4 separate regions of the Homo sapiens genome follow, and all the other regions are linked to region 4. The links are contacts of gene promoters, found by promoter capture Hi-C in blood cells and fetal thymus (Javierre and others, 2016). All regions are on one chromosome and are shown on one strand. Each heading gives the region's core, a stretch centred on a gene start or on the middle of the fragment in contact. The rest is flanking DNA. Distances are from core to core; before and after follow the strand shown.

Region 1 (3,091 bases), core at 43-2,542, 140 kb after region 4:
GACGGGCGGATCACGAGGTCAGGAGACCCAGACCATCCTGGCTAATACGGTGAAACCCTGTCTCTACTAAAAATACAAAAAAATTAGCCGGGCGTGGTGGTGGGCACCTGTAGTCCCAGCTACTCGGGAGGCTGAGGCAGGAGAATGGCGTGAACCCTGGAGGCGGAGCTTGCAGTGAGCCGAGATCGCGCCACTGCACTCCAGCCTGGGCCACAGAGTGAGACTCCCTCTCAAAAAAAAAAAAAAGAAAGAAAAGAAAGACAAAAACAAAAAACAAAAAACAGCTTCATGGAAAGAGTGTGGCTGGGTAGTAATGTGGTACTATGTTCAAATCCCAGCCTGGGCCACTTTCTACTGCTAGGACATACGTAACAATGATCACCCTCACCACTACCACAAACAGTGTGCGTGGAATTTGTGCCATGTGCCAGGTCCAGGTCTAAGAAGTTCTCAAATACTAATTCATTTAATTCTTACACTGTGAAGTTAGCCGTTATTATCACTCTCATTCTACAGAGGAAGAAACTGAGACCAAAAAGTGTGAAGAGCTTGCCCAATGTCTCACAGCTGGTGGGTGGAATGACTGGGATTTAAACCAGGCAGTGTCCTTGGGAGCTCCCACCTGTCACCACTGCACCATAGGCTCTTTCAGATGGACGTGGGCTGACTTTCCAGAACTGGAATCTTGTAACTTGGGCCTACTATTAAATTTCTGTCTGGATTCATCAGGCACCCAACTTAGCCATCATGGCCATGCCATCAGATGTGGCTTTTAAGGATAAGAGTTATGGTAAAGGCAACTGGCTGGTGGTTGGGTTTTGAGAAGAGGCCAGTCCATGGACATATTGATCTTTAATGCCCTCAAGCAAAGCATGTACATAGTTTACCAAGAGTGGTTACCCTTATGATTGGACCATTGCAGATGTGGTATCTGTAAGGGCAACTTTTGAAGGAATCAATCCCAGTCCACAAAATGAGAGATGCTTTATAAGGGATGAAATAAAGTTTCATTGAATTTAGTTCTGGGTGGCAGGTAGGTCTGCTAGCAAGTTCCGAAAGACCAGCCGTTTTCTTTGAGTTATATGCGCCTGAAACTCCTCCTCGTAAACATCTGAGGCTCACTCACACCTCAGTGATGAACTGCCACCCTCCTCCACTGAGAGCAGGAAGAGAGCACCCAGAGTGGATACCATGACAGCTCAGCCAAACAGGCTCTCTGCCAGGAGGGCTGAGGCAGGAACCCGTCACATAGACACTCTCCAGGAATGAACTCAGGAAAGATCATGCACTTGACTTGGTCAACCTGAAGTCATACCCTAAAACCTCTTTGTTAGCCTCTTGCAGGTAACAGCCACCACAATGGTGTGACCCGAATGATGCTGTGACTAATTTCTCAGACTTTCAGGACTGCCCTGTGGCTGGGTACCTATCACCAAAAGCCATAAAGGGCTGCAGACAACATTGCTAAGATTACTTTAGCACAATGCCTGTATTCAGCAGACACACACAGATGGTAGTTCCTTTCTTTGAGTCAGTTTGTGCTGGGATGCTGACATTTCCCCAGACGATGCCACCCTTTTGGGTGTGCATAATTTCCTAGACTGTCTCATCCTGGGCCATGTTCCTTGAATTAGAAATAGAAGGGAGGGGGTCAGGTCATCCTTCAGGGTGCACAGCTCCTCTCGTGTCCCATCAAGGGTAGCAGTGTCCCTGCTGGAATAGCCCCTCTTAGTCCTCTCCTCTTAGAGCCTCGGAAACTTAATTTCAGAATAAGACATGGCTTCTTCTATTCATTTTTAGAAAGGTGCTATTTGGATTTTGCACATAGCTGTGAAAGTAAAAACAGGATTTATAATGCTGGAGATTGAGGAAGAGTTTTGCAACTCAAACCTCAAAGGAGAAGTATTGGCTTCCTCAGCTTCCCCCTGACAAGGGAGATTAATGTCATTCCACTATGCTAGTGACTAGCCAGCAGAGGGAATTAAAATAGATCTTTGTTGTGCCGGGCAGGAGGAACAAATGTTGGAAGCTCCTAGAGCTGCTCTCTTCTCAGCTCTCTTCTCTGCTCTCTTCTCTCTTTAGGAGCTGACAGGTGAAGGCTGGATGCTGATTAGCAAGGGCTTCCTAGCCTCCTGTGGGAAGTAAGCCAGGGTGGAAGCTCAGGCACAGGTCCTCTAAGTAGGGGGGATGGCTGTGGTTCTGAGGGAGACTCCTGCTTGGCCCACACTTCCTGAAGGTTCAGTGTGGGGAAGCAGAGGCATATGGAGGCATCAGCCTCGGGCCTTCCCTCACTCACATTTAGGGCTGCACACGGTGCCCCACCCCACCCATCACCCACCCCCCCTGCCCAATGCCATTTCTCCCCTCCGCCTACCCCTCTGTGGCCTTTCCCCTTCCTGGAAGGGGACTGTGGCTGGAGGGCAGATCTGAGAGGAGACCTAAAAAGAAAGAAAATAGGAAGAAAACGAGGGGGAAAATAATAAAAACAGGAGGCTTATTGAAGGAGGGAGGAGCAGGGGAGAGTGGGAGCATGGGGAGCAGACAGTTTGTTCCAGCAGGCTGGATGTTGGGAGGAATATGATGGGGGCTCAAAATAAATAAGACTAGCTCTATTCTCAACACTTCTATCAGAATTAGGCAAATCCTTAAATTCTGTGACAGCCCAATGGCAGATGTGAGAAGGTGCCCTCAGAGCTCCTCAGAGCTCCGACTGTCAGAAGAACTTGACCGTTGTGCCCTGAAGTTGCTTCCCATCGAGGGACTCAGCATGGCAGTTCCAATCCTGGGAGACATCACCTGAGCTCCATGACATCCCAGTGGCCTTGCCAAAACTTTCCTTCCATCTCTTCCACACAGGGAACAGACCTGTGTTGTGGTCTGGAGGCTTCTCAGCCTCTCACAGCCTCCCTTTTTCCCTCACAGGTGTTCTCCCTAACACATCTCTCATACGTCCAATTCCTTCCCATCTTAGCACCTGCTTCTTGGAGGAGCCAAAACAGCAGAAACCCCAACACTGGGCACCATTGCTATGTTTATTTTACAGATGGGAAAATCAGGGCACAGAGACATTAAATGAATTGCCTCAAGTTTT
Region 2 (3,168 bases), core at 576-3,075, 160 kb after region 4:
TCCCAAATAGCTGGGATTATAGGCGTGCACTACCACGCCTGGCTAATTTTTGTATTTTTAGTAGAGATGGGGTTTCATCATGTTAGCCAGGCTGGTCTCAAACTCCTGACCTCAGATTATCCTTCCGCCTCAGCCTCCCAAAATGCTAGGATTACAGGCGTGAGCCACAGCGCCCAGCCAGCTCTAGGCTTTTTGAAGCTTGAGACAGATCTGTTTTACTTTTACTGCCCAAAATCTCTCCAAAAGCTAGCTAGTTTGACCAATGTGTGGATGAGAAAGGGAGAACCATGAGCAGGAGGGGGAGGGGGGTGAGATGGGGTGAATTGGGGGTGCAGCTGTAATTCACACTTCCAGTCCAAACTTCCCCAAAGCAATTCTCCATCCTCTTCCTTTGTTTCCACCTTTTCCACCCTCTGGCCCCTTACTTTTCCATGAAGCTAGGCCTGGAGAGAGAAGCCTCAGACCCAGAGCCTTGGGCAGAACAGCACCCGGAAGCCCTCATCTTTGTTTTTTGAGAACCATTTCACCTCCTCTTCTCCTTATAATCAACAAGTCCTTCTCTTTCTTAGCAGGTATCAGACAGAGTCATACACTCTAGAGTGACTACCTTGTTTTGGGCTGCCCAGGACTTTCCTGGTTTTAGCCCTGAAAGTCCCATCTATTGGGAACCCCTCAGTCCCAGGCAAATCAGGACTGTTGGTCATCCTACAACGCTAAGTGAAGAGAAGGTGTTGCCATCATTCAGGACTCTGCAGTCATAGAGGGGCTGACTGATTCAAGATGGAGGATGGGGCTCCGTTAGTCTGCTGGGCTAGTCTCCGGGTGACTAATTCCCCCTACGATTACCAGCCCTATAGTTCACTTTGGTTTGGACTTCCCCACTATTCTTATCTCCTGTTTCCTTCTGAGCAGGAATTGAAAAAAGAAGACACTTCTGCAGGCTGCACTCCCCTTCTTTTCGCAGCCAGGACTTGCTGCTCATTCACTCCAGAGCCGGCTGGGAGGCAGCCCTTTCACACGGCTCCTCTGGGCGTCTCCTCGTGATACCACAGATGGGTCCCTCAGAAACCCTCAAAACAGGCCTCCTGGTTGTCACTGCCTCCCTCCTTACCACAACTTACAGCAAAGCTCACGCTTTAACCGAGGGAGTTTCCACGCCCCACTACACCCTTTCCATGATGGTTTTACCCAGGTGGTGTCTCACCAAGATGAGGGCCCACCCAGCCAGGGTGTGTCACTTCTCGCTTCCCAGCCTCTGCTTTGGGGCCTGCATCTCACCCAGACTCTCCTGGGATAAGTGGGCCGGGGCTTTACAACCTAAGCTGTCTCAGGCTGTGATGAGTTCTCAACCCCAGGGAACGTGTATGCTTTCTCTGCTTCAGGCTACAATGCCCTTTTCTCAGAGAATAATCTCTGGCTGTGACGTTAATTAATAACATTTAAGTCAAATGGTATAAAATGGCTGACATACAGCTATTTTTGAGCCACATCCATGTCAGTTTTATATGACTCAAGCTAATATGTGGGAAACAGAAATTGCTACTTAGTGCCTGCAGCTTGTCACAGAGCATGATCTTCCCAGACAAGCTGCTGTATGAGTAAAAATAGTCAAGTCCTTGGTGGTTCTATGTTAGGGACCCTGGAGCTAGCTACTTTCTCCCTCCCCTTCCCCCAGTGAGAAGAGCTGGCAAAGCCGACCTCGAGAGGTGGCCAAATCCAGTAAAAATTGTCTCGCATCTCTTTATGTGCCTGTGGTCGGTCCTTCAGCACAGGAACTTCTGTGGACTCGGGCACTCCCGAGATTGAATCCTGCATCTGTCCTCTCTGGCTGAGTGATGGGTGAGCTTGAAACCTCTGAGCCTAACATTCCTTGTCTGTAAGATCGGGATTCATTCTCATGCCTGCCCACAGAACTGTTTTAAGGGGAGCACCTGGCACAGTGTGTCACATACAGCAAGCACTTAATACATGTTCAATTTGTTTCCTGCATTATGTGAGGAAGCAAAAGCCCTTTGGATCTTTGGAAACATCCAGGCTGCCTGTGGACTCCCATGTTCCACCTCCACCCTGGGTATCCTGGGAATTTGGTCTTTAAAGGTCACTTTATTTTTTTTTCCCCCTGAAATAAGACATGCTTTCTTTTCAGATTATTTTGGGGGAGGTAAGCCACCCTTTATTGAGCTTTTACTAAACTGTCAGGCTCATTGCTCTGTTTGGATTAATATTGATCTAATCCGTTCTGCAATTCTGAAAAAAAAAAGTTCTATATTTAATTCACTGCACTGCTGAATGCCTCTGGGGATATTCATGATGAGAGGAAGGAATGGGACAAATGTGGAGAAGGAAGGGAAAGTTAGAAATAAGCAACTGATTGCCTGGTGGAGTGGCAGAGGGGTCCCAAATCAGGCCCTTTGCCTTACTGGGTGCTTGGGCTCAGGGCTGCCACGTGCACAGGGGCATCTCTAATTTGCACCAAGTCTCCATATAAGCTGGGGGTGGTCTGGCTTGGCAAGGAGCTCATGAAAAGATCAGTCAGGTACAGTCTAAGCCAGGAAGGGGCTTGTCTTCTCAATGGGGAAAATTCACATAAAGACTTTGATTAAGACAGAATGGAAGAAGTGGGTGAATGTATCTTCTGCAGATGGGATGCAAATTCAGATAATGCTCTGGGCAGGATGGTTTTGCCTGATACGTGGTGATATTATGTATTGAGAGCCAAATGGCTGGTTATGGGCATCCATCTGGCTTGGGACTGCTCCCTGCCATCCAGGGGGTCTGCTCAGTGAGGGCAGACGAACACTCTGCAGCCCTCATCCTAGCTCCCTGCTGTCTCAGAGTCCCCAGTGAAGACCCTAGAATTGCTGTGGCTCCCACAGGAGTCTCTCAGTGCTGGCACAGTGGGTGCATGCAGTGGGTGCTCACCCAGCATATCATGGTCCCTGCTATGAGCCATCTGGACCATGCTACAGAGGAAAGAGCAGTACCAATATCGCTTTCTATGAGTTCCCACGTGACTCTGAGGAACAGCACTGGTCATTGAGGGACATTTTTGATCTTCATGTTCACATTTCCATTTTGCACACACTGTGCCTCACAGGAGGCACAGCTGGGTGAAGCACCTGGCCCATCCCACAGCTAGAAGCAGGGGGAGCAGGACTGAGGCCAAGG
Region 3 (2,999 bases), core at 415-2,914, 240 kb after region 4:
TTAGAAATTATGGTTTAGGAGTCATGCAGCTGGAGTCTGGAAGATGAGGCTGTAAAACCTAGATAATCAACTCCTGCACAGAGGGAGTGCTTTCTGGGTAATCGCCAAACTTCACATACATATGATGAGTCCCAGTAAAAAGAGTGGGTCTTAATGAGCACTTTCCTTTCCCTTTTTTGGGGTCAAACTAAGATAAGAAAGCTGGAAGCTTGCATGGGGGTGGGGGGATGCCTGCAGCTGCAAAGAGGTACCTAGGACCAGGCATGGAAATTCCCCTCCTCTTTTTAACTCATGCAGAGTGGGAAGGAGATACCCAGCATAGGAGGAGCCCAAGCTAAGAACCCACCTGCATGACAAAAGAGTGGGATGGGGGCTGCCAGAGATTCTGCTCTATGCAGATGGCACACCTGATCCCAACCAGTTTTTTGTGCTCTACATAGATAAGATACCCCCTCCCCACTAGCTCATTTATGAAACACCTTATGTTTTACTGCAGTATGGCAACCCATATGTGACTCCTCTCTGTAGCAGAGAGCTGTTCTTTTCCTTTCACCTATTAAATTTCTGCTCTAACCTCACCCTGCGTGTGTCTGTGTTCTTGATCTCCATGGCCATGAGACAAAGAATCTCGGGTGTTATCTCAGACAACGAGGCTGCTTCAGAAAGAGCTAGGGGAAAAGGCAGCTGACAGGAGCTTGTCCAGGAGCAGAATAAATATCAAACACTGACTTCAGAAACTATTCTTTCAAAGGAAATACAATTTCTTTGGTTTAGATTATAAAGCTATTTTTGCCCCAGGACATTGTTGAAAACAGTGGAGCAATCAGCAGGCAATTAGTGAAGATTTAACATCTAGGTGTGGTCAGAGAAAGAGAAGTGGCCTTTACCAATATCACTGTCATCCCAGGATAACTGTAGGCATACCCAAAACTGTCTTTCTGAGGAGCAATGTCAGAGGCTTCATTAGCACTGTGGGGGTTGGGGGAGAGTGTTTAAACTTTACTAGAATAATCCAGCCAGCCAATAAACTGATAAATAAACAAATAGCAATAGCAAGCTCTGGGGGTGGAGAAACTGGTACCCAGAATTGATATTACACATAATCTGAAAGGTCAAATTCCCAACAAAAAATAACAAGGTATACAAAGAAACAGTAAGGTATGATCATATACCAGATTAAAAAAAAAAAAAAAAAAAAAAACAGGCGGCTGGGCATGGTGGCTCATGCCTGTAATCCCAGCACTTTGGGAGGCCAAGGCAGGTGGATCACGAGGTCAGAAGATCAAGACCATCCTGGCTAACATGGTGAAACCCCATCTCTACTAAAAATACAAAAAATTAGCTGGGCATGGTGGCGGGCACCTGTAGTCCCAGCTACTCGGGAGGCTGAGGCAGGAGAATGGTGTGAACCCGGGAGGTGGAGCTTGCAGTGAGCCGAGATGGCACCACTGCACTCCAGCCTGGGTGACAGAGAGAGACTCCATCTCAAAAAAAAAAAAAAAAAAAAAAAAAAAAGCAGAGGTAATAGCTCTCACAAGAAGTCTCTGGCTAGCAAAAGACCAAAAGACAAATATTTACACAGATTCCAAATATATTTCTGCCACTTTGCGTGTTCATGAGGCTATTTACAAAGAGAAAAGACTTTTAACTGCTGAAAGTAAAAAAATAAAGTACAAGGAAGAAATTCTATGGCTCTTAAATGCTGTATAGGCCCCAAAAGAGGTGGCAGTGATGCACTGCAAAGGGCACCAAAAAGCAAGAACACTAAAGGCTAAAAAAATAGAAAGGCAGACAAAGAGGCAAAGCAGGCTGCAATGACAACTCCACCTTCTAAAAAGAAAGCCTTAGCTATGCCTCTCCTCCCAGAGATTCCCCTCCTGGAGATCCTGAGCTACTCCAAATGAAAGGGCTTAATTTGCCCAGAAAAATAAAAACTACATTGAAAAAGGATAGTAAAAATTCTCCAATGGGAGGCTAGCCATACCTGAAATGGTGGCCCCCAGATTTGTAAAAGAGTTCCACCAAGGAACTCACATGGAGAAAAACAGCACTAAAGACATTATTAAGGCATCACTTCTATATGCCATGGCTCACTGCCATTACTCAAGCCATTTGTAAACAAGCAGTGTTTAACTTGCACTCAGAACAATCCACGACAAAGGCCTACCTGGCCCCCGGGAGATCAGAAAACAAAAGCCATGCCCTGTGAAAAACTGCTTATGGACTTCACCGAATTGCCCTGAGAGGGAGGCTATCAGTACATGTTGGTGTTCATTTGCACCTTTTCAGGGTAGGTCATGGCCTTCCCCACCTGGACAGAGAAGGCACTAGAGGTAACCGAGGTGTTAAGAGACATTATTCCCAGATTTGGACTGCCTCTAACTCTAAGATCAGACAATGAACCAACACTTGTGGCTGAAATAGTTCAAGACTTAACTCGACTACTAAAAATAAAATGGAAATTACATACAACCTACAGGCCACAGAGCTCAGGTAAAGTGGGATGCATGAACTGAACACTCAAACAGCTGCTGAAGAAATTTTGTCAAGAAACTCATCTAAAGTAGGATCAGGTCTTGCCCATGGTCCTCCTCCAAGTCAGGTGCACCCCCACCAAACAAACTGGGTATTCGCCCTATGAGATTTTGTTCGGCCGGCCACCCCCCATCATAGGTCAGATTAAAGGTAATCTCTGTAAACTAAGAGAACTAACTTTAAAAAGGCAAATGCAGGCTTTAAGTATGGCCATGTAAAAGATGCATGGCTAGGTATGAAAAAGAATGCCTATAAGTCTAACAGACCCGGTACACCCTTTCAAAGCTAAGGACTTTGTTTAAGTTAAAAAATGGAATCCAACCACTCTAGAACCCATACAGGATAGGCCCCATATTGTAATCATGTCTACTCCCACTGCTGTTAAAGTTGCAGGTCTCACACCTTGGATTCACCATAGCCAGCTGAAACCAGCGGCAGCAGTAACTCCTGATGATGACCAGTGG
Region 4 (3,051 bases), core at 148-2,647:
TCAAAACTTTGTTTTTGTGACTGACAACCTCTGATCCCTGGTCCCTCTCCAATTTGTCCCTCTCCATCAGGCAGGCCCCTCCCGTCTTCGAAGCTCCCATCATCGCCCCACCCCTCCTCTTGCCAATATCCTGAGTTCCTTTGCCTTTAATCAAACCTGTTGGAAGACGCTCCTGGCTGGATGCATTCCACTGTCCACGCTTGCTGTTTGGTGTCTCACCATAAGAAAGCCCATTCCCAAGCACAAATCCTGTCAACTCTGGGTTCTCCAAGCCAGCCTGGTTTTCACGTTAAGAAACTTTTAGCCCTCTCATGTGGTTAGCTGGCAACAGACCCTACCTTCAAAACACACAAACCGACAAGCTTGCCTGTCTCCACTCATCTCTGCATCCAGCTGCCTTTCACTAGGGAAAGGGGGGGTGCAGGGACGCCTCTTCCCCGCAGCGCTCCGGGGTCAGAGACCCCCAGCCCCTCTCACCTACATTATAGCCCTTCCCTCACCGCAGGCACAAATCTCCATCCGGCTGCGGGACCCTCTCCTCACCCTCACAGCACACTCCGTTCTAGGAACCCCACTCCGTCTCCACTCTCCGGAAGCCTGCTCGCCCAGACCTCCATGTAGCGGCATCTAAAGGCTGGGACCCTCCCCAGCTGCAAACGCTCTCCTCGAGGATTCTGCAGCACTCTCCCGGCCCTCCCGCTCCCCACTATCCCGTGGCTGGTTTGCACCGGTCCTCTACCCTCGGAAGCCCTTACGACCCTACGACTGGCAGGACGCGCGCCGACGGGCTCCCCCGCAGCTGCGTCCACTCGGTTAACCCCGGCCCCCGGGACTGTCCTCGGCGTGGCTGACTCTCTTCCCAGGCCCAGCACGGAGAGCGGCCCGCGGCAGGCGAGCGTAAATGTGTGCTAAGTGCACGAGTGCGTCCCGACTGGTAGTGGTGCATTCTTCACCCGGGAGGAGCGCCATTCCCGGCGGCCGGACCAGGAAAACGCTCCGCTTCCGGCACTGCTGGCACTTGGGGCGGGCGCTGGGCCCGACCGCGGCCGCGGACTAGCCAGGGTCCGGGAGTCCCGCGAGGCCGCCTCTCCCAGGAGGCTCCCACCGGGCAGGGGGCACCTCCCGCCACCCAGGCGGAAACACTCGGGCCGGGACCCCGCCGCAGTCGCCAGCCAGCCGGCGACCGGACGCCCGGGCGCGGGGTTGCGGGCGCCTCGCCAAGGTCACCGGCGCCGCGGCGGCAACTCACCCCGTGGAGGTGGAAGCCCTCGGCGCCGCCTGCGGGCTGCTCAGCGCTGACGCCCAGGCCCATGGCAGCGGCTCCGCTCGGCACCCAGGTCCAGTCCCGCTGCGCCTACCCGGACCGACCCGACGCCAGTAGCACCGACTCGCTCTCTCGGCGCTCGATTCCTGCGCCTTGTGACGTGAGGCGTTTTGTTCCTCCCACTCCAGACACTGGACGCTCCTAGCAACCGGCTAGCAGCTCGGTTTCCAAGGACTGTAACGCCTTCAACCGCCCGCCGCGATAGAGTGCCCACGACCCTGCCTCGGGAATCCCGCTCTGCACCGCCCCACCAGACCCGGACTCGGAGCCGCGAGCGGCCCGAGATGAGCAGCAATGACTCCTCCCTTATGGTGCGTGGCCCGGGCGCTGTCCGAGGGCTCCCTCGTGACTCCCCGCCCCTGACCCAGAGACCGTCTGCCCTGCTACTCTCCTGCCACCCTTCGCTGTCCTCAGTTATATCAGGCGGTCCTGCCTTTTCTTGCCCCACTCCCCCTGGCAAGGGCGTCTTCTCCGGTGGCTTCTGCGCACCCTGAGCCCCAAATTAGCATCCCCGTTTCTTGAGCTACCCCAAACCAGCTCATCCAATCACTATCATTATCCCTTCTTGTCATCATCCCTTCTTCCACCCAGCTCACTCTCGCCTGCGCCTCCCACCCCAGTTGATGGCTTCACCATTTAATCTCCTAGCCTTAACTCATACCTCTTCCCTATACTCATCTTCTAATCCTGTCTACAAGAAATGCCAGCTCCTTGATGTCTCCTGGGTTTTCTTTTTATCTTTTTATCTTCTAGCCCAGAACCAGCACCATCTCTCCCCCCTGAGAGCCTGCAACAGCCTCCCTCCCATCTGGTTTCTCTGCTGTGGCTCTTTTCAGCATCAGTAGTCCCTGCTGCCACCACGGCACACACCCCCCACATGCAAAAGCAGCCAGAGTGGTTGTTGCAAAAATGTACATCTGAAAACATCCCTCGCCTTAAAACCATTCTGCTTTCTGTTACCCTTAGGATGGTGTCTGGGCTCTTTCATATGGCCCATGAGGATGTTTACAGTCCAACCACATCTGCTCCCAACCTAGCACCCACAAACCTTAGAGGAAGTGAAACTTAACTTTAAAATCTCAGCCCCTTTGTCAAGCTGTAGTTTCCATGGGCTTAAGCTTCCTTAGCTGTGAAAGATACTGAGAGGACCATGCACAGGATAGTGGATATGAAGCCCACAATAACTTGTAACTACAATTCGTATAATTTTTCTTATTATTTGTCCTCATTTTTCCCCCCTTATTCCCTTCCTAAGACAAAGCCTTGGTTGAATTCCCCATCATAGTTGAACCAGAATCTGTTGGTAATCCCCCAAACAAACACCTCCAAACTCTTTCCTGGGAAAACTGCATGGAGCTGCTCCCAGGGCTGTTAGAGGACAGGATGAGGCCTGAATGTTTCCTCTTTCTCTTCCCTTTGCAGAACTGAGGAGGAGCAGGGGATAGGGAAGGGAGCAGGTCTCATCCCATCTGGGACAGAACAGAGACAGAGAAGGGACTGGGCTATTGCAGTTATGTCTTCCTTCATACAGGCTGGGATCATTTACTATAGCCAGGAAAAGTACTTCCACCATGTGCAGCAGGCTGCAGCTGTGGGCCTGGAAAAATTCAGCAATGACCCTGTGTTGAAGTTCTTTAAAGCCTATGGAGTCCTCAAAGAAGGTAAGGACTTGGCAGTGTTGGTCTTGTGACCCCAGGCACTAGCTGGGCCCTAACACTCTGGCTCCA

The links. The method cuts DNA at HindIII sites, captures the fragments that hold promoters and counts their contacts. A CHiCAGO score of 5 or more calls a contact.
Region 1: a fragment that was not itself captured here is called in contact with the fragment with the promoter of GORASP1 in region 4 in 5 of 17 cell types (total B cells, neutrophils, naive B cells and 2 more); the score reaches 9.9 in total B cells.
Region 2: a contact is called between a fragment that was not itself captured here and the fragment with the promoter of GORASP1 in region 4, in 12 of 17 cell types (total B cells, naive B cells, activated CD4 T cells and 9 more). The highest score is 13.2, in total B cells.
Region 3: a fragment that was not itself captured here is called in contact with the fragment with the promoter of GORASP1 in region 4 in 1 of 17 cell types (fetal thymus); the score reaches 5.4 in fetal thymus.

Annotation. Positions count from the first base shown.
Region 1 is chr3:39,248,357-39,251,447 of GRCh38, forward strand. All of the region lies in intron 2 of LOC102724104 (a long non-coding RNA gene), which reads left to right. Among named protein-coding and RNA genes, the nearest start is that of CX3CR1, 30 kb to the right of the region's middle. The HindIII fragment of the contact is 9,853 bases long and covers 1-3,091 here.
Region 2 is chr3:39,266,905-39,270,072 of GRCh38, forward strand. All of the region lies in intron 1 of CX3CR1 (C-X3-C motif chemokine receptor 1), which reads right to left. Among named protein-coding and RNA genes, the nearest start is that of CX3CR1, 12 kb to the right of the region's middle. The HindIII fragment of the contact is 3,259 bases long and covers 197-3,168 here.
Region 3 is chr3:39,347,166-39,350,164 of GRCh38, forward strand. No RefSeq gene overlaps it. Among named protein-coding and RNA genes, the nearest start is that of CCR8, 19 kb to the left of the region's middle. RefSeq lists a silencer at 257-467. The HindIII fragment of the contact is 2,916 bases long and covers 207-2,999 here.
Region 4 is chr3:39,106,230-39,109,280 of GRCh38, forward strand. GORASP1 (golgi reassembly stacking protein 1) reads right to left here and starts at 1,398. Exons shown (of 9, transcript NM_031899.4): 1 at 1,250-1,398. The coding sequence starts at 1,312. It overlaps TTC21A (tetratricopeptide repeat domain 21A), which reads left to right and starts at 1,451. Exons shown (of 29, transcript NM_001366900.1): 1 at 1,451-1,635; 2 at 2,856-2,985. The coding sequence starts at 1,609. RefSeq lists a silencer at 1,028-1,347. The HindIII fragment of the contact is 2,080 bases long and covers 361-2,440 here.